4 separate regions of the Homo sapiens genome follow, and all the other regions are linked to region 2. Evidence: promoter capture Hi-C in 16 types of primary human blood cells and fetal thymus (Javierre and others, 2016). All regions are on one chromosome and are shown on one strand. Each heading gives the region's core, a stretch centred on a gene start or on the middle of the fragment in contact. The rest is flanking DNA. Distances are from core to core; before and after follow the strand shown. Region 1 has its middle 560 kb from the start of LINC01876. Region 2 holds the start of FLJ46875 (a long non-coding RNA gene). Region 3 overlaps LOC105373710 (a long non-coding RNA gene). Region 4 has its middle 190 kb from the start of GALNT5.

Region 1 (3,206 bases), core at 142-2,641, 650 kb before region 2:
AGTGGATTTGATATAGTCATATTTGACATAAACAAATTCAAAATACAGAATTTTAATAGGACTTGCTATTGCTTAGTGAGTCGACATCACATAACTCTAATACTCTAATCTCTGAGGAATAATTTTTAAAATCACTGTTTCCTGGTGACATTATTTCTAAGCCTTTATACATTTATGACCTTGTCATTATTCCTATTAAATTTTGGGGATTATATTGATTTTTAGTTTTTTTGGTAAAAGTGTTATTTTAGATTTCATTTATTTTCAAAACTTCCAACTAAAGTTCCTTAAACTTTTTTTGGATCACATGCAGCTATAAAATATTATCAGTTTCCAGAAAAATACAACAAATTGCAAGTACACTATGTTTAAGATGTAATTTTAGAAGGCCACTGGTCCCCTAAAGCACCTCTATTTATCTCCTAGAGAACCATGAACTATAAAATAATGATCTATGATTCAAATACAATTTTGAAATGTTGAAAATATGAAAGACAGGTAAACACAGTTTCAAGATTTTCTTCAGCATACAATGCTTATATAAGTATCATAGATCTAATTTAATGAAATACTAAACAAAGCATCTTATCACATAGCATTAAGCAGTTCCTAAGGAGCCACAGTACACATTACTCTTAGAAGAAATCTTGGATGGTGACTGGAAGGACCACATCTAAAATCAATGGACTTTAGTTGAAATTCTGATCTACAACTGTAGGCTCAATTCCCCTATCTGGGATTCGTGAATAGTTAACTATACCAATCTCTTTATTTGGTGTTAGAAGTATGTGAAATAATATAAAGTTACTTAGTATAATAATGGCACATATAAAACATTTAGTACATGTTAACAATACTTATTAGCACATACTATGAATGTTCTCATTGGTGATGTGAATATATACTCCAAAGCACCAAATTCCTGTTTAAATCCTACAAAGAATCTTCCAAAGACACCAAGTTTTCATAATTTCAGTGTTCTTTCTAAGTCGTTGCTTTTCACTATTACTTTTACATTTATGTAACAAAGGAATACTATTTTTATTCTGTTCTGTAGTGTTTGATATTGCACACATTTTTTTCCTTACATTATTGTCGGACAAGAGAACTCTGATTATGCACTGTTCACACAAAGCTTCCTTGTGTAATATTAAGATAGATCATTTGCCAAAAGAATAACCTCACCAAGAGGCCAAAGCATGGGACAACAAAAAAGTCTTTATGTAGTGATTGGTTCACAGGCATCCTGTGCCTTGAGGCGTGATTCAAATTTCCTCACTGAATTATATCTGTACATCTCTCACGCATATCCACATCCCTCACAAATCAACTTCCCTAGCTTCCAGAATTCATTAGGGATCTTATCCTCTCTCTAAAATAACTACAACTCTAATGCGTTCCCTGTTTATTTTCAACATAGAGCAAAGAGGAGCTGAATATTTAAGACCTTAGTTGTTAGACATGTTCGTAATAAAAGATTAAAGAAAAATAGAACAGAAAATTTGGATACAGAATACATCAGGCTTTTTTGGTTTAACTAAAGTCACTCAAGTTGTAAATTTAAGTGATTGAAGTTCTAAATAGAATAATAATTAAGATTTTTCAAAATGCAGAACTAGAAAAGAGAAACCTGGAAATTATTCCATCAAAGCTTTAACCTATAAAGCTTTAATTATATTCAGGATTTGAGGTTAGAATGATGAAGAATGCCTCCTTCTTAAATTAGGTTGAAGGTTTAAATCAAACTCAACAATTTCAGCAGTGCCCCAATAGATCTTAATGTCACATAGCTTTTTGCTCTTCATGTTCTTTTCTTTATTATTGCATTGCCTCATTAACTCTCTTCTGTCCAAAAATAATAGACCGGAGTAGGAGGGCTAGTGATTATTGAAAACCTAGGGGTGTTCAGTATCAATACCCAAAACTTAGTATACATCTTCTTAACTTCAAAGGAATATCATACTCATATACAGAAAAATTAAGAGCTTTTATATATAACTCCTTGTACCTCCAATTAAAAATGTGTGTAGTTTATACCACTTTAGGTTTTGTTGTTTATAAGCCAATTACTGGAAAAATTATCAAATTATAACCTAGCCACTATAAATAAGTCTGATCCATCCAAATAAACATGCAATATGAGTATATAAATGGATGGTTGGTATTGGTTCCTCATTTCTAGAACAGTTGTGTTTTGCATCAGAGCAATGAACTCTGCTTTCGTTTTCCTAGTTTTGCTAGTCATGTCTGCGTGTTCCCATTCTCTTAACTTCCTTATTCAAATACTTACCAACTATTGTCAATTGTACATTTTAAATATCTCCAGATATGCACACTTTCCTCTGTTCTTTCAGGGTCTTACTATTTCTTGTTGTTTGGATTATAGCAACATCTTCCAAATTGATGTTCTTTCTGCATGACTTGGTTCCCTTCTATCTATTCCCAAGATCAGAAGAATCTTTCTAAATGCAGAGATGATCAAGTCACCTCTGTTCTTCATACTTTAATGGTGGCATTAAAATGGAATTGTTAATTTCTACTTTCTGTATACTTTTATTTTTTGTACCGATGCACTCTAGCCTCAAAAAAGCAAAAATATACCAATTTTTACTGTACGAATAACAAAGTTCAATCACTTTACAATGACAATTAAGGACTTTGATTTGATCTTTTCTTATCTTGTCAATACTGACACACACCACCCCTGACTGTCTAGCTTAAATTTTGTGTAGTTGTTAGAATGTAATAATATCCTGTGAATCTCTGTACCTTTGGCACTCTCGTTATGATTAAAAACCTTTTCTTCTTTTTTTCTTGAATAACTCCTAAGTGTCTTTTAAGATTCTGCTCAGGCAGCACCTCCTACTCTAGTCAAAAACAGATGTGCAAGTTCAAACAGCAGTTTAAATGTTTCTCATAGACATCCCAAAACAACTCAAGGGCAAAGACTATGCCTTACCAGTCTTCGCACAGCACCTAGTATCTACTAACTGCTCTCTAAATAGATGGTAATAAATGAAGACATGCTTGGCTCTCTTTCTGAGTTTTCACTCTACACCTTAGAACACCAAAGCCCGTACCTTACTTTGGATAGACCCATCTGGCCCTGCCTTGACAATCTATATCAAACATATTTCTTAGAGTTTGCTAAAGCTGAAGTTTGAATTTTGTGTACTAGAGCAGAAAAGAAAATGAATTTAGATTTA
Region 2 (2,896 bases), core at 353-2,852:
AGGAAAAAGCAAACTACCAGTACCACCATGTACATGATTCAAATTAAGCTACATAAATAGTGAGTGCATGGGGTTGTGGGTACAGAAACTGGTTCGCTGAGGAGGTGCTACTTACATTTCCTGTATTTCATATTTCTGAGAACTGTCTTCTGTAATTTCCAAAGTGTAGGAATGGTTGAAGTTTGAAAATAAATGGAGAATTTCAAATAGTTAATGAATAGATTTAGGAGCTATACTGAAACAACTAGCAGAAAATACATTTTCTGGAGTTCTTTAATTTTGTACGCTTAAAAGTATGGTGTTCCTAAAGATGGCTAATTCTTGTTGAAGTAAGTAGCTCTGGAAGTCATATTTTCCATTTCTCCATACTTCATCTATTAATCAGTTGACTGGCAATTTCCGACACCAGTTTTGCTAAACTTTATAAATTTTGCTTCCTCCAGAGGTAGGAGGGGGAAGGAGATGGGCAATACAGAAACAGATTTTACAGCCAGAATATGACAGGGCCCCTTAAACTACAAATAGATGTAGAATTTTAAATGTAGCTCTGTAGTTCAATTTATACCACAGAAATTGCGAGATGCTATCTTCCTGTTGTTATAACGTATCAGGTCAAGGGATATAAATTGTACCAGGTAATTCATTTTGCTGTTCAGAGAGTCATTAAGTTCCTCCCAGAATATATGTGATTGATATCCCTGGAGGTGAAAGGCTAAAGGAACCATATGGCAACATGTTGCATTCCGTATGCTATCTGCCCATCCGTGCTTAAGCTGTCATTAGCAACATCTGTACCTTACGGAAATCCAGCTGCGCCGACGACGGCTGACGGAATTGTACTTGGGGGGAAAATCTAGCTTAGCGCCATTAACTTGAGACTTAGAGTCTATCTACCAGGACGGATGGAAGCTTTCACAATTAGACGAGACGACACGAATGCTTTATTAAAGTTTAATTTTGAACTCCCAATTAGCGAAAGTGCATTACAAATCGATTGCAATTTCCTAGAAGGTGCAGCAAGTTCTCTGCCTGCCTGCCACGTGCGAGACGCTCCACAGCGAGCTTCCCCAGCTCCGGGCAGCAGAAAGGGGATGGTTCAGAGCCGATCTCCGCATCCCAGGAAGTCCCTAAAATCCGCGCCAGCCCCTCCTCCCGCAGGGCGGGGGCGTCCACGGCGCGAACCCGCCAGAGGTGTAGGGGGAAGTGTGGGGGGCTGGTCCGCAGCCTTCGAGGGGTGGGGCGACAGGAGCGAGCGGCCGGGGGAGGAGAAAAAGGCGGGCGGCGGGAGAGGGGGCCTCTATTATCTCGGCTTCTCGGGAGGAGCCTCATCTAGTCAGTCACGCAGAAGTTTCTCTTTCGCTCTTCGCGCTACACACCCAGATTGGCTTCCAGCGCGCAGGCGAGTGGGGCGAAGGAGGGGGGACAGGAGTCCCGGAAGGGCCGTCCGGCGTTCACACCCACCCCTGTTCCGCTCCTCCCGCCCCAAACAAAGTCCCCCGACTCTAGGTCCAGGATACGTTACCTGCCCGGCGCTCCCGGCCCCTCGGTCACCGCATCCCCCGCTGGGCGCGCCTGGTACGGGTCCCGCTCCCCGGGGCTCACAAAGTGGTCGCCCCTGGCTGGGCGGCTGGGTAGATGCCCCTCTCTGGACATGTTGGGGCGGTTTTTGGGGTGGAGGGAACGCGGGAAGTGAAAGCGGAGGCTGGGACAAGGGGAACTTACTGATAAAATGGAAAAAAAAAAAGCCCACAGGGCCCAGGTCCTGGCCGGGGGCGAAAGAGGCCTGTTACCTTTCGGGGGGTCGCGGCCGACCAAGAAGGGAGCCGGGGAGTCGCCCGCCCCCCTCCCCCGGCCCCCGGCCCCCGGCCCCCGGCGGCTGCGGCAGCTGCACACAGAAGCCCATTGTCGCCGGCGTCCGGCGCGCAGCCCCGCGGACTCGGCCCCGCGGCCAAGCGCGTCAGCGGCCCCGTCAGCCGGGCCGGGCTCCGTGACGCGCGCGCAGCCCGCGCTATAAATAACCTGCCGCCGGGCGGCTCGGGCGGCTTTCCAGTGACGCTGGGGCGGAGGCGCGGTAGGAGGAGGGCGAAAGGAAACAATAAAACCGCCCGGCAGCCTCCCAAGTCTCCCTCCTCCCTTCCCAGGCCGCCCGCGGCCCTTCGCGTCGAGCTCCTTTTTCCCCGCCCCGGCCCGCCCTGCGGGGAGCGCGGTTCGCGGGTGGGAAGGAGCCCGGCGTGCTGGCGTCCCCGAGTGCTGCCGGGGCCCCGGGGCGGGAGGGGGTTTTTCCCGCACCCTGGGATGGCGAGGAGGGAACTTGGCGACAAGTTTAGTGAGGGGATCGCTGTGTTCCTTTCTAGTCCAGTTAAAATGACCCGAGCTTTTCCCGCTCCCTCACACACCTATTCTAGTACAGGTCGGATGTGTTTTTGGGGTAGTAAGTCCTCAACCGAAAACAAAAGCGAAAAACCTGTCGTCTTCAACGTAAGCATTATCTAGGTTTTTGTGGGGCCAGGCTTGCATTAGTGTTTTCATTCGGGGGGTTGTATTATAGAAAGGGTGCCCCGTAGTAGCAGCGTGAGGAAGGGTTCCAGGACCCAGGCTGTCAGCTCCGGTGCATTTACAGGTCTTTTTGCCGTAGAATTTAGCATAGGCCTGAAACATGGCATAAATGAACTTTCTAAAAGTCTATAATCTCAACGTTAAAGAGCTTACTTTTTAACTCTGGACTTTAATAAAGGCTCCCACTTTAAAAGGGGCTTTCTCTATAGGAAAGTATTAATATTTTTGTGGAGACTCTCACTGCTACCTTCCATACTCAGGCAATTCTGTCACACACCCTGACACTTGTCCTACTCATTAAGGTACCCACATACAACTGGAGGTAATCTGTTTTCTTGGA
Region 3 (2,838 bases), core at 29-2,528, 700 kb after region 2:
CAGGATTTTTGTAAAGGTAAGTTCTCTGTTAATTAGCACTCCCAAATTTTGATGCAACTTGCCTAATAGTTACATATGTCTATTTTATCTTTTTCCTATAAAAAAAGCACATAGCTGTCAAACTGAATGAATGGCAGAGGATCCACAAAATTTGTCAAAGAATTTTTCAAGACAGTTGTGTAGAGGACAAGCCTAAATAGTTAAGATTGGTATGGGTGGTAAGGGGTGTGGCCGGGGGGGAGCACTACTGCTTTTTGCTTTTCTTACAACTTTCACCATAGCCACAGTCAATGGAGCCGATCAAGACTTCAAGCCAGCAAAATACACATCTAACTTCAGGGCCTTTGAACTTTCGTCATGGGCCTTGGCTGGTCCCTTTCAAGGTATTAATCAACAATTACAGCCTAATTTAGATCATGGAGACTACAACTAGGGCATAGAGCAGTAGAACAAGTGAGGAGCCCAAACCAAGTACACGGAGCACCACAGCAAGAAAACTGAAGTTCAAATTTCTACTCTAAATTGTAGAAACACAGAGGAAAGAGAAATAACAGGCTGAGTGCATGCTTGGTGTGGAGTTCAAGCAGAGGTTTCTGAGATTTCTGTGAAGAAGTCAAACTTCCTTGGTCATTTCATATTTGGTGTTTGTATGTGTCAAGCTAGTTTATAGGTTCAAATCTGAGGCAAAGAGCATTTCTCTACTTATTTGATGTATTTTCTTCTCAGGATACAGTGTGGTATCCTGTTTATTCAGGACCTTCTGTAGTTTCTCTCCCTATCAGGTATGATTTCTTCAGGGAGCACTTGGACCTTTTCTAAAACTCATCTCTATCAAAGACTTACAACAGATTCCTTTACTTAGAGTTTAACTGTGCACAATGACAGCTAGCTAATCAGATAAACATCTGTACTAGTGCATTCATAAATGCTTACATGATAGTGTATTGCTCTTCTAAGGGATACATAATTTTTTAATGTTACTGTCTTAATCCAAACAATGGTTAGGAACAAACTTTCATACAAATGAGGACTTATGAAGCTCTTACGGTCATATAAAGGAGAAAAAATCCAGTATCTCACTAAGATTTGTCATGAAGCATACTACGTTTCTACATGATATTTATATGCGAAATAAAATCCTAAAAGTCAGTATGTCCTATTCAGATCCCTGCTCTGCCACTTACTATTGATCAAACTTTAATTATACAACCTCTCTACATCTCAGTTTTTTCATACATACAAGTGGCATAGTAATAATAGCTACATTATATGGTTGTTGTGAAGATAAAATTAGTCAAGTAATTTAATTAACTGGAAAAGCACTGGTTCTAGATAAGTGTTAGTAATTATCATTATTATGGGTAGAGAGTATGGTATATTGGTTAAGGACTCTGGCTCTGGCATTAGACATCTATGTTCAACTCCAAGTTTTTGCTACATATAGGAGGTTGGAGAAACTATTCAGTCTCTCTATATCTCAGTTTCTACATCGGCCAAATGGCTTATGAGAATTGTAAAGGTAAGAAAGACTGGATGACGCCATTTAATCTGCCTTAAGTGACGTAGAAAAAGATATGATCGTATACTATTGGGGTGATAATTTATGGCCTCGGAGGAGGTAAAAGGGCATATTGCACAGTCTACTTGTGAGCAATCACTTTGCTGAGCCCACAGTGATGATGTCAAGTTGAGGCCAAACTCAAGTTAGCCAAGTGAACCTCACTTAGCCAAGTTAACTCTGTGGGTCAGGTCTATTCCTCATATATTCACAAGAGAGAACACCAGCAGTGATCTGCAAATGCTGCAAATAATACCTGAGGAGTGAAAATAGTACCATAACAATGTTTTGCGGTTGCCTTCTGTTTCTATGTTCTGGGCCATCTCTCTCATTGGCTTTAAAGAAAGAGAAGTGTGGAAAGATTGCACAACACCACCACCACTAAACTGAAACAAATATAATTTCTAGCAAAGTTGAATTTCCACATGATCATGTTTAAAAATCACAAAAGTAAGTCTGGGTCTAAAAAAGTACTTGAGCAATTTACCCCATTTGAGAACTCTCTAGGTTTGAAATCTCATATTGAAGCGTGACTGCTGTGGCTTGGTTTTCCACATTTATCAGTGTGGGGGCACTGGCCATGATTCTTCTTTCCTTTGTCCTCCCCAGGCATTGGCACAGTCTTTGGACATGAAAATCATGGAGAAGGAAGAGGCTGATTGTTATCCATGATTAGGCAGTGCAGATATAGCTCAATATTCCAAATGGGATGTTTTGGCCTTGGAGTTAAGTTCCAAGAGCATTATAAAATAATCACCTGTATAGGAAGTCCTGACTTAACTCTATTAACAACTTCGTAAGTATAAGAACAATTATCGTACTATTTCATTTTGATAAATTTGTATTCTATTTTTAGCATTTTATAAGACATACATCTCTTTTGTTTTCTGATAATGATAAATGGAGATAAAAGTAAAGAATCATTTTCCTTCTCTTGATTACATTTGCACTTTCCCATTCCAACTTCTCCTACTCCTGACTACACCTGTCTTCAATATACGCCTAGCTTTTTCCTTTAACCAAATGTAATTTGTTCAAATTGTCCTTTACAAACTTTAAGAAAGCCTATTTGGTATATATGAGGCAACGCAAGGCTTTAAAATACTTAGCATTTCTATGATACAGCTCATTTTCAATGCACTTTAAAAATATTAGCTAATTAATTAATTAGTTCCTGATTACAAGGTGGCAGAAGTTCAAGGAGAAAATTGACACATTTCTCTACCTTTATAAAGAAAACTTGTTTATATAAGAGAATATCATTTCTTTTTTGAGTAATA
Region 4 (2,999 bases), core at 363-2,862, 720 kb after region 2:
AGCAATTCTAACAGAATCCACATGATTTCAAGTCTAATTATGCATATATTCTGAGTTATCAATGATTCAAGTGGTCCTATTATTGCAAGACTACAAAGACAACAGCATCAGAAGGTAAGAGAGACGTCTATTTTTCCCCTTTGATAATATCATTTTATTTTCAATAATGAGCAATTGCATACCTTTTTTAAACCTTCATTTTTAATCTGCTAAATGGAGATGCATGTAATACAATTTAAAAGCCTTCAATAAAAGTTTCTTTTTAACTTTGTACTCTTTTGAACAGACTATGTTTTATCATTACATAATTCTGCATTATAAAACCACATGGTTGCTGGTGCCATCCACCAGCAACTGTAATTCAAATGTTTCACTTCTTAAACCAAAGGCATTAATATGATTAGCCCAAAGATATCAGAGAAATAACATACTAATCATTTTTATTTAAAGATGAATTTAATGAAATACATTGAATTAAGGTTTTATATAGCACAAACTAGGTAAGGGAGAAAATAAGCCATGTTGGTCATATCATCAAAATAATAGGAAAGTTCTGTTTCTCTTCTAACCTTGTTCATACCCAGACACATAAGCCTGTAAACATTATCTCCTTATCCTGCCATAATAAGAAGGCATCCTTATGACACATTTCAAACTTTCTATCTGGGCATCACAGAATCATTTGCTCCCCAAAGAAAGGCATCCACTTCACAGGAAAATGCAAATAAAAGCAAGTCAACTCAAGCTTTGGGGATTCCCTAGAGTGCAAGGCTTGTGGCCCAAACACCTGTTTAGTTGCCTTGACAAAAACCACATGATTATCTCAATCGATGCAGGAAAGGCCTCCAATAAAGTTCAACACCCCTTTGTGCTAAAAACTCTCAATAAACTAGGTACTGATGGAACGAATCTAAAAATAATAAGAGCTATTTATGACAAACCCACAGCCAATATCATACTGAATGGGCAAAAGCTGCAAGCATTCCATCTGAAAACTGGCACAAGACAAGGATGCCCTCTCTCACCACTCCTATTCAACATAGTATTGGAAGTTCTGGCCACGGAAATCAGGCAAGAGAAAGAAATAAAGTGTATTCAAATAGGAAGTCAAATTGTCTCTGTTTGCAGATGACATGATTATATATTTAGAAAACCCCATCTTCTCAGCTCAAAATCTCCTTAAGCTGATAAGCAACTTCAGCAAAGTCTCAGGATACAAAATCAATGTGCAAAAATCACAAGCATTCCTATACACCAATAATAGAGAAACAGACAGCCAAATCATGAGTAAACTCCCATTCACAAGTGCCACAAAGAGAATAAAATACCTAGGAATCCAACTTACAAGGGATGTGAAGGACCTCTTCAAGGAGAACTACAAACCACTGCTCAAGGAAATAAGAGAGGACACAAACAAATGGGAAAACATTCCATGCTCATGGATAGGAAAAATCAATATTGTGAAAATGGCCATACTGCCCAAAGTAATTTATAGATTCAGTGCTGTCTCCATCAAGCTACCATGGACGTTTCTTAGAATTAGAAAAAAAACACCTTCCATATGAAAGTATAAATAACCACTCTTAGCTGTTTTTCTTAGGATTGTAAAAATTCACATTAAGATAACTTCCAAGTTATTTTTTAATTGAGTACATTATGGCCAAATTATGCCACATGTGTTATGCCAGATGTGTAATGCCATGTAAATGGAACAATGTGGGGATTCCCTATTTCTCTGTAGTAAGAGCCAGTCAAGGAATGTGGTTTGGAGAAGTCAAAGAGTGCTGACTAAGAATTTGAAGACTTGGATTCTAGGTTTTGTTCTTTCTCCAGCTGACAGGTGTATGACTGTTCATTCTTCCTTACAGTTTGTTCACTCTAAGGGTGGTGGGGGGGGGGTAGATTAGATGGATGGTAAGATTTCTTCTAGCTCCAAAATTCACTAATTTTGTGAACAGCTTATAAAATGAGAGAGAAGGGAAAGTGCCTTCAGCCCCCTATCCTGGTGATTGGGTCCATATGAATTGGAAATAAAACAGACAAATCATGAAGAATGTGAGTTTGGGCACTACCCACAGAGATCACAGGTGGAGAGGAAAGACAATGATAGTTATTAGGCTTGAAAACAATTTGTAAATGCCTCTAAAAATAGTGAATTGTGTCCTGTTCTCTGTAAAATGCCTTCTCTTGTTCACCACAAAGTGAAAATTTTATAGTTTCACATGACTAGCCTAAGAATTATTAATAGTACTTATTTGTTCACTATTCTGCATGTAGGTGGGGAATAAGAAACAAAATAAAGACTTGTTCTCTCATGTTTTCCATATCTAGGATATTTCCATATCTAGGATTTCTTAAACTTCTGAGAACCATTAGTTCATGTAAAGAGACATTGTCTTTGAGTAAGTTTATGGCCTTGTCTTCATAAAAGAGTTTAAAATTGCACATCTGGTAATGAACTATGATTGTGGGTATTTGCCAAGCTTCTCCCAGAGGGTAAATCTACTCTCATTGAAGTGTAAGACTGAGTTCCTCTATTGAAACACTTTGATTTGAATTTGAATCTTGGGGAATTTATCCTTTTTCTAGGTTTTCAGTTCTGGAAAATCTATGCAAAATAGAAGTTAGCAGATGGATCAAGAAACCCACAGAACAATGTTTGTGTTGAAGAATTCTCAGCAAGTGCCCTGTGAGAGTGCTCCCATCTGGAAAGGACTGCAGCTGTCTTTTGGCATGAACTAGATGGGTGTTTGTAACAGGTTCATGTCAACTCTTTTATAGAAAATCAACTCCTAAAATCATTGTAAAATTAAAGAGTTATTTTTATGAATTTCTCCATCCTGTATTAATTCAGGCACCTAACTCCATTTTGAATTTAAAGTGGCCTTGGCCATTTTGTCAATTATCATCTTTGCCTTGGTAGATGAAGAAACACATTCTGCTGGTCAGAGAGTGAGGCTGGTTAGAGTGGACCTGCCAAAAGGTGAGTATGATCAACT

The links. Contacts are between HindIII fragments. The CHiCAGO score rates a contact against its expected background, and 5 or more counts as called.
Region 1: a fragment that was not itself captured here is called in contact with the fragment with the promoter of FLJ46875 in region 2 in 4 of 17 cell types (M0 macrophages, monocytes, M2 macrophages and 1 more); the score reaches 9.4 in M0 macrophages.
Region 3: a fragment that was not itself captured here is called in contact with the fragment with the promoter of FLJ46875 in region 2 in 1 of 17 cell types (endothelial precursors); the score reaches 6.2 in endothelial precursors.
Region 4: a fragment that was not itself captured here is called in contact with the fragment with the promoter of FLJ46875 in region 2 in 1 of 17 cell types (endothelial precursors); the score reaches 6.5 in endothelial precursors.

What each region holds. Positions count from the first base shown.
Region 1 is chr2:155,688,784-155,691,989 of GRCh38, forward strand. No RefSeq gene overlaps it. Among named protein-coding and RNA genes, the nearest start is that of LINC01876, 560 kb to the right of the region's middle. The HindIII fragment of the contact is 516 bases long and covers 1,134-1,649 here.
Region 2 is chr2:156,340,518-156,343,413 of GRCh38, forward strand. It overlaps FLJ46875 (a long non-coding RNA gene), which reads right to left and starts at 1,603. Exons shown (of 1, transcript NR_147695.1): 1 at 1-1,603. RefSeq lists enhancers at 508-1,063, 1,064-1,617, 2,825-2,884 and silencers at 1,165-1,264, 1,805-2,414. The HindIII fragment of the contact is 3,407 bases long and covers 908-2,896 here.
Region 3 is chr2:157,044,736-157,047,573 of GRCh38, forward strand. The region is part of intron 1 of LOC105373710 (a long non-coding RNA gene); the gene reads right to left. LOC105373709 (a long non-coding RNA gene) reads left to right here. Exons shown (of 4, transcript XR_001739755.2): 3 at 2,168-2,354. Among named protein-coding and RNA genes, the nearest start is that of GALNT5, 210 kb to the right of the region's middle. The HindIII fragment of the contact is 3,602 bases long and covers 1-2,838 here.
Region 4 is chr2:157,061,259-157,064,257 of GRCh38, forward strand. No RefSeq gene overlaps it. Among named protein-coding and RNA genes, the nearest start is that of GALNT5, 190 kb to the right of the region's middle. The HindIII fragment of the contact is 1,738 bases long and covers 744-2,481 here.